Regions from separate parts of the Homo sapiens genome. Here regions 2 and 3 are each linked to region 1. Evidence: promoter capture Hi-C in human tissues and cell types (Jung and others, 2019). All regions are on one chromosome and are shown on one strand. The core of a region is centred on a gene start or on the middle of the fragment in contact, and the rest is flanking DNA. Distances in the headings are between cores, read along the strand shown.

Region 1 (3,057 bases), core at 351-2,850:
ATAAAGTGACTCTCGCAGAATTGGTAATGAGAGGAAATAAAATGACTTCCAAGATTTAAACTATGCAATCAATGAATAATTGTTAAGAGCAAAGGTATGTAAAGTTACCTTAAAGAAACTCAGACCACTCACATTTAACAAAAACCTAACTTTTAAATATTTTATCATCTAAAGACACTATAAATGTGAAAGTGGATGGTGCAGAGTGAATCCACAGCCACAGTGGATTATTAAGGTACTATTAAGCTGTGGCTACCTATATCAAAGGCTGTATGTGAGATGATTTTCAACTTGGGGAGCTGGGCAAAAATAAATTTTGGCTTCCACAGTCTCATCTCCATTTCCTTCTGAAAGGAAAAAGAAAAGAAAAACGAAAATCCTGGGACAATGTATCATAAAGCCAGGTAAGAAACAGTTAACATTATTTTGTAACATCAATCATTTTACTTTTCCTTAACATAAGTGGAAAATTGAGTAGATTGTTCCTGTTTACCAAGTATGTTTTTGAAAATTCCTACCCACTGGTCCTGGTAGAAAATAGATGTGCTTCTGCCCAAATTAAGGAAAACTCCACAGACCTACACTACCACTCCCTGAACATTTTTCTTTATCTCTTCTTTTTACTGCATCCTATCCTCTTAAACTGCTATTTAATTTCCAAGTGAATTCTTCCACAGCTTCAAATCACTCAAGCAATCTCCCACTTTACTAAGGGATTCTTAGCATCAGATAGTTTCAGACTGGTGACAGGGTATTTATTAAAAGCATGAAGTCTGTGCTTTGCCAAGGAGACCTAAGACTGAGTAAGTCTCTTCAACTCTCGGAATGTAGTTTTTGTCATTTGAAAATTGACTTCTGTTGAAGATTTATTTTCTAAGATCCTAGTGAAATTTTAAGTGTATAATCACGATCCAAACATAACCAACATTCTTATACAGTGGTAGAGTTTAAGGGAAGCAATTTGACAAGTTGTACACAACCTTTCCCAAGCCCCACATTGTATGTACTTAAGAAAGACTACCTATAATCCATTTTATTACCCAACTGGGGGGTTCTGAATGATCCATTTTACTGCACAATTAGGGGGTTCTGAACCTAGATTTTAGCACTTCAGAGAATCATGGCACCTGCTGAGAGAGAGGATAGGCAGCAGAGAGAGAAACTGCGACACATATCCATCAGGTTGCTTTGCCTTCTAAGCTAACTGCTGAAGATCCTGTAGGGCCAGGCAGAAAAACCGTATTTTCTTGTCTTTTCAAATTTCAAATTCCCTTAAACCAAAGGCTGGACTCCAAATAATTTCGTTTGGAACTAAAGAGCTCATCCCCTCTGAGCACGAAAACAGGACTCTGTGACTCCGCCTCGCCGTAGACCGCAGGAGGGAGAAACAGCGCCAGGGAAACCCGAGCCTGTCCCATCGAGGCGGTCCCAGGCCAGCCCAGCCCACCCCAGCCCGCGCCAGCTACTGGAGCCCCAGGACGCAGCCGAGCGGCCCTCGCCGACTCCTTCCCGAGCCTGGCTGTGGCGTCACGTGACCCGCGGCGCGGCCAATCCGCGCAGCCCTCTATGCTATTCAAATCGGCGGCGGGGCCAACGGTTGTGCCGAGACTCGCCACTGCCGCGGCCGCTGGGCCTGAGTGTCGCCTTCGCCGCCATGGACGCCACCGGGCGCTGACAGACCTATGGAGAGTCAGGGTGTGCCTCCCGGGCCTTATCGGGCCACCAAGCTGGTAAGACAGCTCGGATAGACGGGACCGGTCAGCGGGCTGACGGCAGTCACCACTGTTCGCAGTTTTACCTCGACCGTTCGCAGTTTTACCTCGGTCGGAGGGATGAGTCCCAGGATCCCTAGGTTCAGTGAAAAGGCTGGCGAGGAGAAGTAGCGGGTATGCAACCCTTGCCAGACTCACCGCTCCCTCTATTTTGAGGGTCTGGGCCTCAGGTCCGAAAGGAAGCGCCGCGCGTAGGCCGCACCAGACTCGCTATGAGGAGCGACTCCTGTGCCTGGTGTGGCCGGCGTCCCGTGGGGGCGTCTTAGAATATTCCGATTTGGCCGCTCACCTCGCCTGATTTTCTACCCGCCTCAGAATTAGGGAACAATTGGGAATGAGGTCCAAAGCTTTGTAGGGTTAGGTGGGGGGCAAGCCCGAATGTGGCAATTTTGTTTATTGAACCCATAGAATTTAACGCAGGATGTATCGGCCGAATAGCACTAGGATAACAGCTGCCTGTTTCAAAACGGTATTTCTGAGTACCCATCAGTAACCACTGCTGGTGGTCCCTGAATTGCACGTACAGCACTCCTAACGCGTTTTGTGCAGTTGGGTCTTCGGTTCTATAGGATACTGTGGTGCTGGTTATGTGACGTTAGGTGAGTCCCCTACCTTCTGTGAGCCTGTTTCCACATTGGTAAAGGTTACTAATACATGCTTGCCTTAAGGGGTTTCCCAGGAGGATGCTGTTTTTTAAAGTGTGTTGTGATCTGCAGAATAACAAGCATTTTCCTCTTAGGAATGCCCTTCAGACGAGCATGTATTATTAGCCCTACTTTATCAGGTGCACACTGAGGCTCACAGACGTTAAATGCCCTCTAGAGTCACATCAACAGCAAGTGGCAGAGCTAGAATTCAGATCTTCCTGGTATGGCGATCTTACATGGATTCTGCTACTTAGTAAGTTATTGGCTATATTTACCAATATGAAGGATAGAATTTAGGACAGGAAGGAACCTCAATCAGTAGTCCTGCCACATTATTTAAAACCCATTAGATGAAAGTAGTATAAGCACGCTGAAAAAGAAAACATGCACTGAATGCTTACTAGTACTTCACATATATTACATCATTTTATCATTCCAATAAGCCCATTCGTTAGGTCCTTTTGTCCCTGTTTTGTGGTTAAGGAGATTGAGGCATAGAGATTGAAGATAGGCCCAAAAAGTCATAAACAATAGTGGCAGAGCTAGAGCTGGGAAACCAGCCCTACTAGTCTAACTCCAGAGCCTGTTCTTAAAGCCACTACCCTGTACTGCATCTCAGGAAAGCCGTTCTGTAATCT
Region 2 (3,057 bases), core at 228-2,727, 1.6 Mb before region 1:
AACTTACATACAACAGTCCTTACTGACCTGAACCAGATGCCTTTTCCACATTCAAGCCAAATAAGAGTCCTCTGAGTGGAAAGACTACAAGTATTGAAAATAAAAATTATTTCAACAATATATTCTGAAAATTAATGACCTTTCTAGCAGATATGGGAGCTGCTTTATGTTGTCTGCCTGAGAGTTTCATCTTGCTTTTCCTATGGACCGTCCAAAAATATTACATAAGATTTCCTGACTAAATAAGAAATATTCTTTAGTAGAGGGTTGGGGAAGGGTAAGAGGAATGGAGAGATACAAAGAAATACAATGTGATTTCTTTTGTCCATTTGTCAAATGCTTTCGTTAAGCTATTAAAAAGGTCAATTGACCTGCATACCTGGGCATTATTTAACCTCATTATTTTAGCTGTGCAAAACAAATGTGCAAAGAAAAACACCTCCTATTTATGTGTGCCTATACATAGACACAAAACCTGAGTCACCATAAAAGTTTTCAATATAAGAAACCTTTTCTTAATATAGGAAAATAACCTTTAAAGAGCCAAAAATATCTTTGTACAATATAAGCAGCTAACTTTAAAACTTCAGTGTACTTAAGTATCACATATTTTATAAGATCCAGCAAAAAAGGGATCATTTACATTTGATAATTTTCTTAACTATAGCTGAGATAACCACATTTTAATTTCTAACATGTATTTTCATTCCCCTGAATTCATTGATTTTTTTTTTAAAGCACATTCAAATAAGTCCTGTTTAATTTCTGACAAACAGTTCCTGCTTGTTTCTAGATATTGAGGACATAGGAGATTTAGGATTGCTAGGCCTATAATTTAGTGCCAAGCCACAATGGAATTCCAAAGTTCAAAACAAAATATATCATTTTATTAAGAGAAACATTATTTGCAAAAGTATTTGTAGACAGAGTTGGGCCAAAGTCTGCATGAAGCTATTGTCTCATTTGCAGGCTCCCTTTCTACTGACTTAACTCTTAAAAACCCTTTCTTTCTCCATGCTCCATTTCCTTATTTTTCAGTAGGCTTCATACCCTTTTCGTACCTGAACCCTGAATTGTCCCAACTGAATGAAGCTCCCTTGCTCATTTGCAGCCACCAGTTAACAATGTCCTCTTATCTACATCTTTTGTTATCTCTTCCTCTTTATGAGCTTAGAACTCTGGGATGACTCCTTGGCCTCTCCTCCTGTGCCACTTAACTACTCATTAGAGGAAAATCTGCTTGAGTGTTCCATTGCCTTATTAGTCACTGATTTAAGGCTCAATTCAGGACATACTTATTCCCTGGGCTACACCTCAGTTGCGAACTGAGGAAAGTTGTTTATAGAAAAATGACTGAAAGTTGCTTCTCGATGCTGCTCCCAGTGGTCCTTGTCATTAATTATGCATTTATGTCAGTTAAGTCACTGACACTTAGGGAGAAGGGAAAGCCATCTGAACCAAAATATTCAGTCTTTGTGGCTGTGATTGGATAGGAGGGCCTTTGAATACTTGTATCAGTAAAGAGATACTGGGCAGGGCCCTTGAATGCTTTTTTTCTCAAGCCTGGTTTGGGAATAAGGTGGAAAATGCATGCAAGAGAGTAAAGGATTAGAGGCATTAGCCAAGGGAACTGTAGTCAATTCCTGACTTTTTATATTATACTTGCCTGAGGATCACCAGAAGGATTTTGTCTTGTGCAGAAGGCTAAAAGCAGAGTCATACTTTCTCTGCCAACAGACTTGTTGCCATGGGAACCAGTGCAGAAAAATGAAAATATGACAAGAAGCCAAGGATTAAATGTAGAAAATTGATAGGGAGTTGATTTCTACATGGCAATTTAAGCATTGAGGATTTAAAGAAACAGGATGTTCCTTATGTGGCCAGATCAATGAAAATGGACAAAATGACTTACCAGTAGCTGGTCCTAGGGGGCTGAGGTGTGGAAAATGGAAGGAGAAAGTAGTAAGCGTGCTGTAGTTTGGATAAGGGGAACTTTGTAAAATCTAATTCCACTCCTGATGAGGTTAAGCTTGCAGCCCAATGTTAAAATTAACTGTAGGATCAAATATACCCTTTGGAAAGGCATGCCCATGCTTAGCTTGATAAAAGCAGCCTGATGTAACAATTTTCTTTTCACCTTTCCAAAACCAGCACATACTACTCGACAAGATTATTGCACATCTAGTTTATTATTGCTTGATGTATCTTTTCAATTACTCCAACACACAAAAAAACGAAAAAACCCACCATTTGCAAATCTATGCCTCCCTTCCCCCAATAAGGCAGCTATTGTAAGTACCCTAGAATTAAGTTTCTCATTAAGGAAATAATTATTTTACTTCATGTGATACAAGTCCTCCCTGTGTACCCTTCTCTGTCATTCAGTACTTAATAATAAACTGATCAAACCAGACTGTAGGAGTCCAGGAAAACCTTTAACAAGGATTTGGAGTTTCAGCATAATCTGAGAAGGACCTACATGTTGTATTTTCAAAGGCTCTAAGGAGACTGTACCTGCCGTGTCTCCGAAGCTTTCCTGAAAACCTACAATTAATGTCTCATTCCTATGACTTCAGCTTTGGCCTATTTTGAAATGCAGTTGCTCTAAGGAGATGTAGGAAGGTCACCCTGTAAAGGATTTGATTTAACCCTTCCTGCAGAGCTAGTTTTCAAATAGTAATGGCACACTTCACCTGATGTCCTCTTCTTCCCTCACCCACAAAGGAAAAACTAAAAACATAACGTCCACCTGGGCAATGGGTAGGGCTAGAGGCCAGGAAGTAGGAGACAAGCCATTATAGCATAGTTGTCTTTAGGGTACATCTGAATCCAAATGGTCTGAATAAAATATGCTCTTTGTGCAGTGTTACGTACACTGGACAGATTTCACTAGACATGCTTGTTTTCTTTCTCACTTATGACTTCTGGATCTATTTGTTAGAGTTCATTACTGAAGCCTTTGACAATCTCAATGAGTTCTTGAAATGTCAAAAGCTCGTTAATTTCCTTTATCCCAAGAGTACTTAATTCTGAATCTGAATTCTGAAATCCAATAAA
Region 3 (3,057 bases), core at 390-2,889, 1.6 Mb before region 1:
CTCAGCTCTAGCTCAAAAGACCAACTGCTATTTACATCTTCTGCCTGCATAGAATGAACTCAGGCCTGCTGGGTGGTGTTTCTATTGTGACATTGGCACAGGCTGAAGTAGCTTAAACACTTTTCAGAGAACTATCATTTTTGAAAACTTGAGTAGCTGATTGTGATCTTGCTAATTAGTTTAAAATATTTCGGAGAGGCCGGGCGCAGTGGCTCATGTCTGTAATCCCAGCACTTTGGGAGGCCAAGGCGGGCAGACCACCTGAGGTTGGGAGTTCGAGATCAGCCTGACCAGCATGGAGAAACCCTGTCTCTACTAAAAATACAAAAATTAGCTGAGTGTGGTGGCGCATTCCTGTAATCCCAGCTACTTGGGAGGCTGAGGCAGGAGAATTGCTTGAACCCGGGAGGTGGAGGTTGTGGTGAGCCGAGATCGTGCCATTGCACTCCAGCCTGGGCAATAAGAGTGAAAGGCTGTCTCAAAACAAAAACAAAAACAAAAACAAAACAACAACAACAACAGAACAAAACACCACCACCAAACAACAACAACAAAAAAACCAAAAAACATTTCTGAGAATGAAATGTTAAAGCAATCTTAGGATTTCTACTTTTCTAGGACTTTCTGAGAGAACGCAGTACATTGGAGATAGAAGATCTCCTTGGAGCTGACTTGAGGGGATCCTTGCATTTTTAAACTGTGTTTGTATAGTTGATCTAAGGTTCCTTTTTCACATGTCAACTGTGTTTGTATAGCTGATCTAAGGTTCTTTTCACATGTCTTGTCTTCTCAGTGAATCTAAATGTTCAGTATATTATGTTGAGCCATTTCATAACTGTTGCAGATGGTCAAATATCAGCAGTATCAAGTAGTTCCACCTATTTATATAACGGGAAATTTCTGGGGTTCTAAGTCAAAATACTGAAGCTTAAATACATCGATAATGCTTAAGAGCTTTTCCTTGGAATGTAGAAAATGATTATGCACCTCTTATATAGGAAGTGAATTAATGAGCTTCAAATCACTGATAAGAAACAAAGCAAAAAATTAAAGACAGTGAATTCAGAGAGAAGGACAAAAAAAGTCAAATAAATGAGTTTATGTAAAGTATTTGCTTAATTGTTTATTGGGGTGAACCTTTTCTGATATGCAGAGCTTTAAGTTAGTGAAAGTCATCTTCCATCACACAATGCATTTTTAAAAGTCACCTTATATAGAGCTAAACTTTTGTTTATCTAAGCAGGGGGAGTAGAATGATGTATTATATATTTCATAGCATTCAAACAGTAATAAGCCTGTGGTTGAGAAATTAAATATGGACCAGTTCCTTCTCCCTCATGAAAGTCACACACATACTGTGTTTGGGAACTTACTCTTACTTGATAACTATGCATAGATTAATATATATATATAATATATATATTTCTTATATTATCAAGTAATTCCATTCAATTCAACAAAAATATGCAAAACATCTGTCATGTGCCAAGTACTGTGTAAGGTGCTAGGGATATAAGATTTGTCAGACTGAATTGTTTTTGACTTGACTTTCAGCCCCAAAATAATAAAGGCAAATAAGCAATGTGAGAAGGACTTATTTTCAATCATTTAATTCAAATCATTTAACTTGGTAACATGGTTACATATTTGTCTCAGTATGGCATTTGCATGCATTTCTTTTATCTGTCTTACCTGAAGGATCTTATCACCAGGCTGCAGTAGGTTTGATGCTGGCCCATCAGGCTGAACCCTAGTAACAAAGATACCCTATAAGTCAGAAGTAACAGAGGTTAGGATTCTATTACCAAGAACCAGGCCTACTTAAACAAATCTTCATTCACATAGAAAACAGTGAAAACAGATCCAGAAACAGTTTATGCATGTAGGCTTCAAAGAATATTATAGTATTTTAAGCAAGGCAGCACTCTCCAAGTCAAGTTTAAGAGAAGCAACATTTTTGCTTGCAAAAAGAAGCTTATCTTGTTTTGAAAGTGCAATTATGATTTATAAATTGATCTCATGGCATATTCTTAATGATTTTTTCCTTAAATCATTTGAAATGTGATGCTGAATCATTTTTTGTATAAATTCTGAATTTGTCTTCAGTTATTCTACTTAACTATGTCTCCATTAAAGGCAGTTGAAGGTATTTGAAAAAGTATCTCTATTTGATAGGTTATAAGTTCATTGTATACTTTAAAAGCTTTACTAGAATTATATATACGACTGGTTTATTTTAATGCATATTGTTTCATATGTTACTGAGAATTTTAATATAAAATGTATATGAACAAATTAAACATAAGCAAACTGGAACATGCATTTTAAATAAAGTTTATGACTATGTGGTTATAAAATCCCTAAATTGATTAATGCAGTTTATAAGAAAGTCAAATTAATTTCATTGACCATGTATAGAAAGAAAACATATATTGAATGTCTATCACATGCTAGGCCTGGATGGCTCATGATATAGAGATAGACAGAATATAGTTTCTGACTTTAATGAGCTCACAATCTAGTGGAGGAGAAGTCAAGAAAACCAATAATTATAAACATTGTGACAAGTGTTATGATAGAGGTATAACAGATTGTAAAAATATGTTGCACCCAGCTTATATTTGTGTGTTAGGTTCTTCCAAGAGGAGAAGATACCTGATAGCTGAATAACAAAGAACACACAAAAGTCATCCACACAGGTAAGGGGAAGAAGGAAATTGCAGAGAGAGGGGACAGCACATAAGTGAGTGTGCCTGTTATATCTGGGAAATTTCAAGTGGTTCTGCTATGGCTGGAGTGCTGATGGAAGGGTGGTAGTGGATGGGATTGGGAGCGCAGCAGAGGATCAGGCCAAAAAGTAGGTTAGGGCAAGATTAAGATGGCCTTTCATAAACCTTCTTACTAATTTCAGGTGCTACTGAAAGATTTTAAACATGATTGTGATAAGATTTTAATTGACATTCCAAGAATAAACTGATGAATGGATAAACAAAATGTGGTATATATCTATATAATGAAATATTATTTGGCAATAGAATGGAATAAAGTATGGAAACA

What was found. Contacts are between HindIII fragments. The study calls those that stand out against the background at their distance.
Region 2: a contact is called between a fragment that was not itself captured here and the fragment with the promoter of DEPDC1 in region 1, in 2 of the 25 tissues and cell types used here (dorsolateral prefrontal cortex and spleen).
Region 3: a contact is called between a fragment that was not itself captured here and the fragment with the promoter of DEPDC1 in region 1, in 1 of the 25 tissues and cell types used here (dorsolateral prefrontal cortex).

The regions. Positions count from the first base shown.
Region 1 is chr1:68,495,625-68,498,681 of GRCh38, reverse strand. It overlaps DEPDC1 (DEP domain containing 1), which reads left to right and starts at 1,600. Exons shown (of 12, transcript NM_001114120.3): 1 at 1,600-1,730. The coding sequence starts at 1,683. It overlaps DEPDC1-AS1 (DEPDC1 antisense RNA 1), which reads right to left and starts at 2,006. Exons shown (of 3, transcript NR_110671.1): 1 at 1,911-2,006. RefSeq lists enhancers at 1,700-1,759, 1,870-1,919. The HindIII fragment of the contact is 14,129 bases long and covers 1-3,057 here.
Region 2 is chr1:70,139,224-70,142,280 of GRCh38, reverse strand. It overlaps LRRC7 (leucine rich repeat containing 7), which reads right to left. Exons shown (of 27, transcript NM_001370785.2): 27 at 1-3,057. Among named protein-coding and RNA genes, the nearest start is that of LRRC40, 65 kb to the left of the region's middle. RefSeq lists an enhancer at 1,016-1,517. The HindIII fragment of the contact is 4,443 bases long and covers 1-3,057 here.
Region 3 is chr1:70,106,462-70,109,518 of GRCh38, reverse strand. LRRC7 (leucine rich repeat containing 7) reads right to left here. Exons shown (of 27, transcript NM_001370785.2): 26 at 1,693-1,767. Among named protein-coding and RNA genes, the nearest start is that of LRRC7-AS1, 66 kb to the right of the region's middle. The HindIII fragment of the contact is 3,848 bases long and covers 1-3,057 here.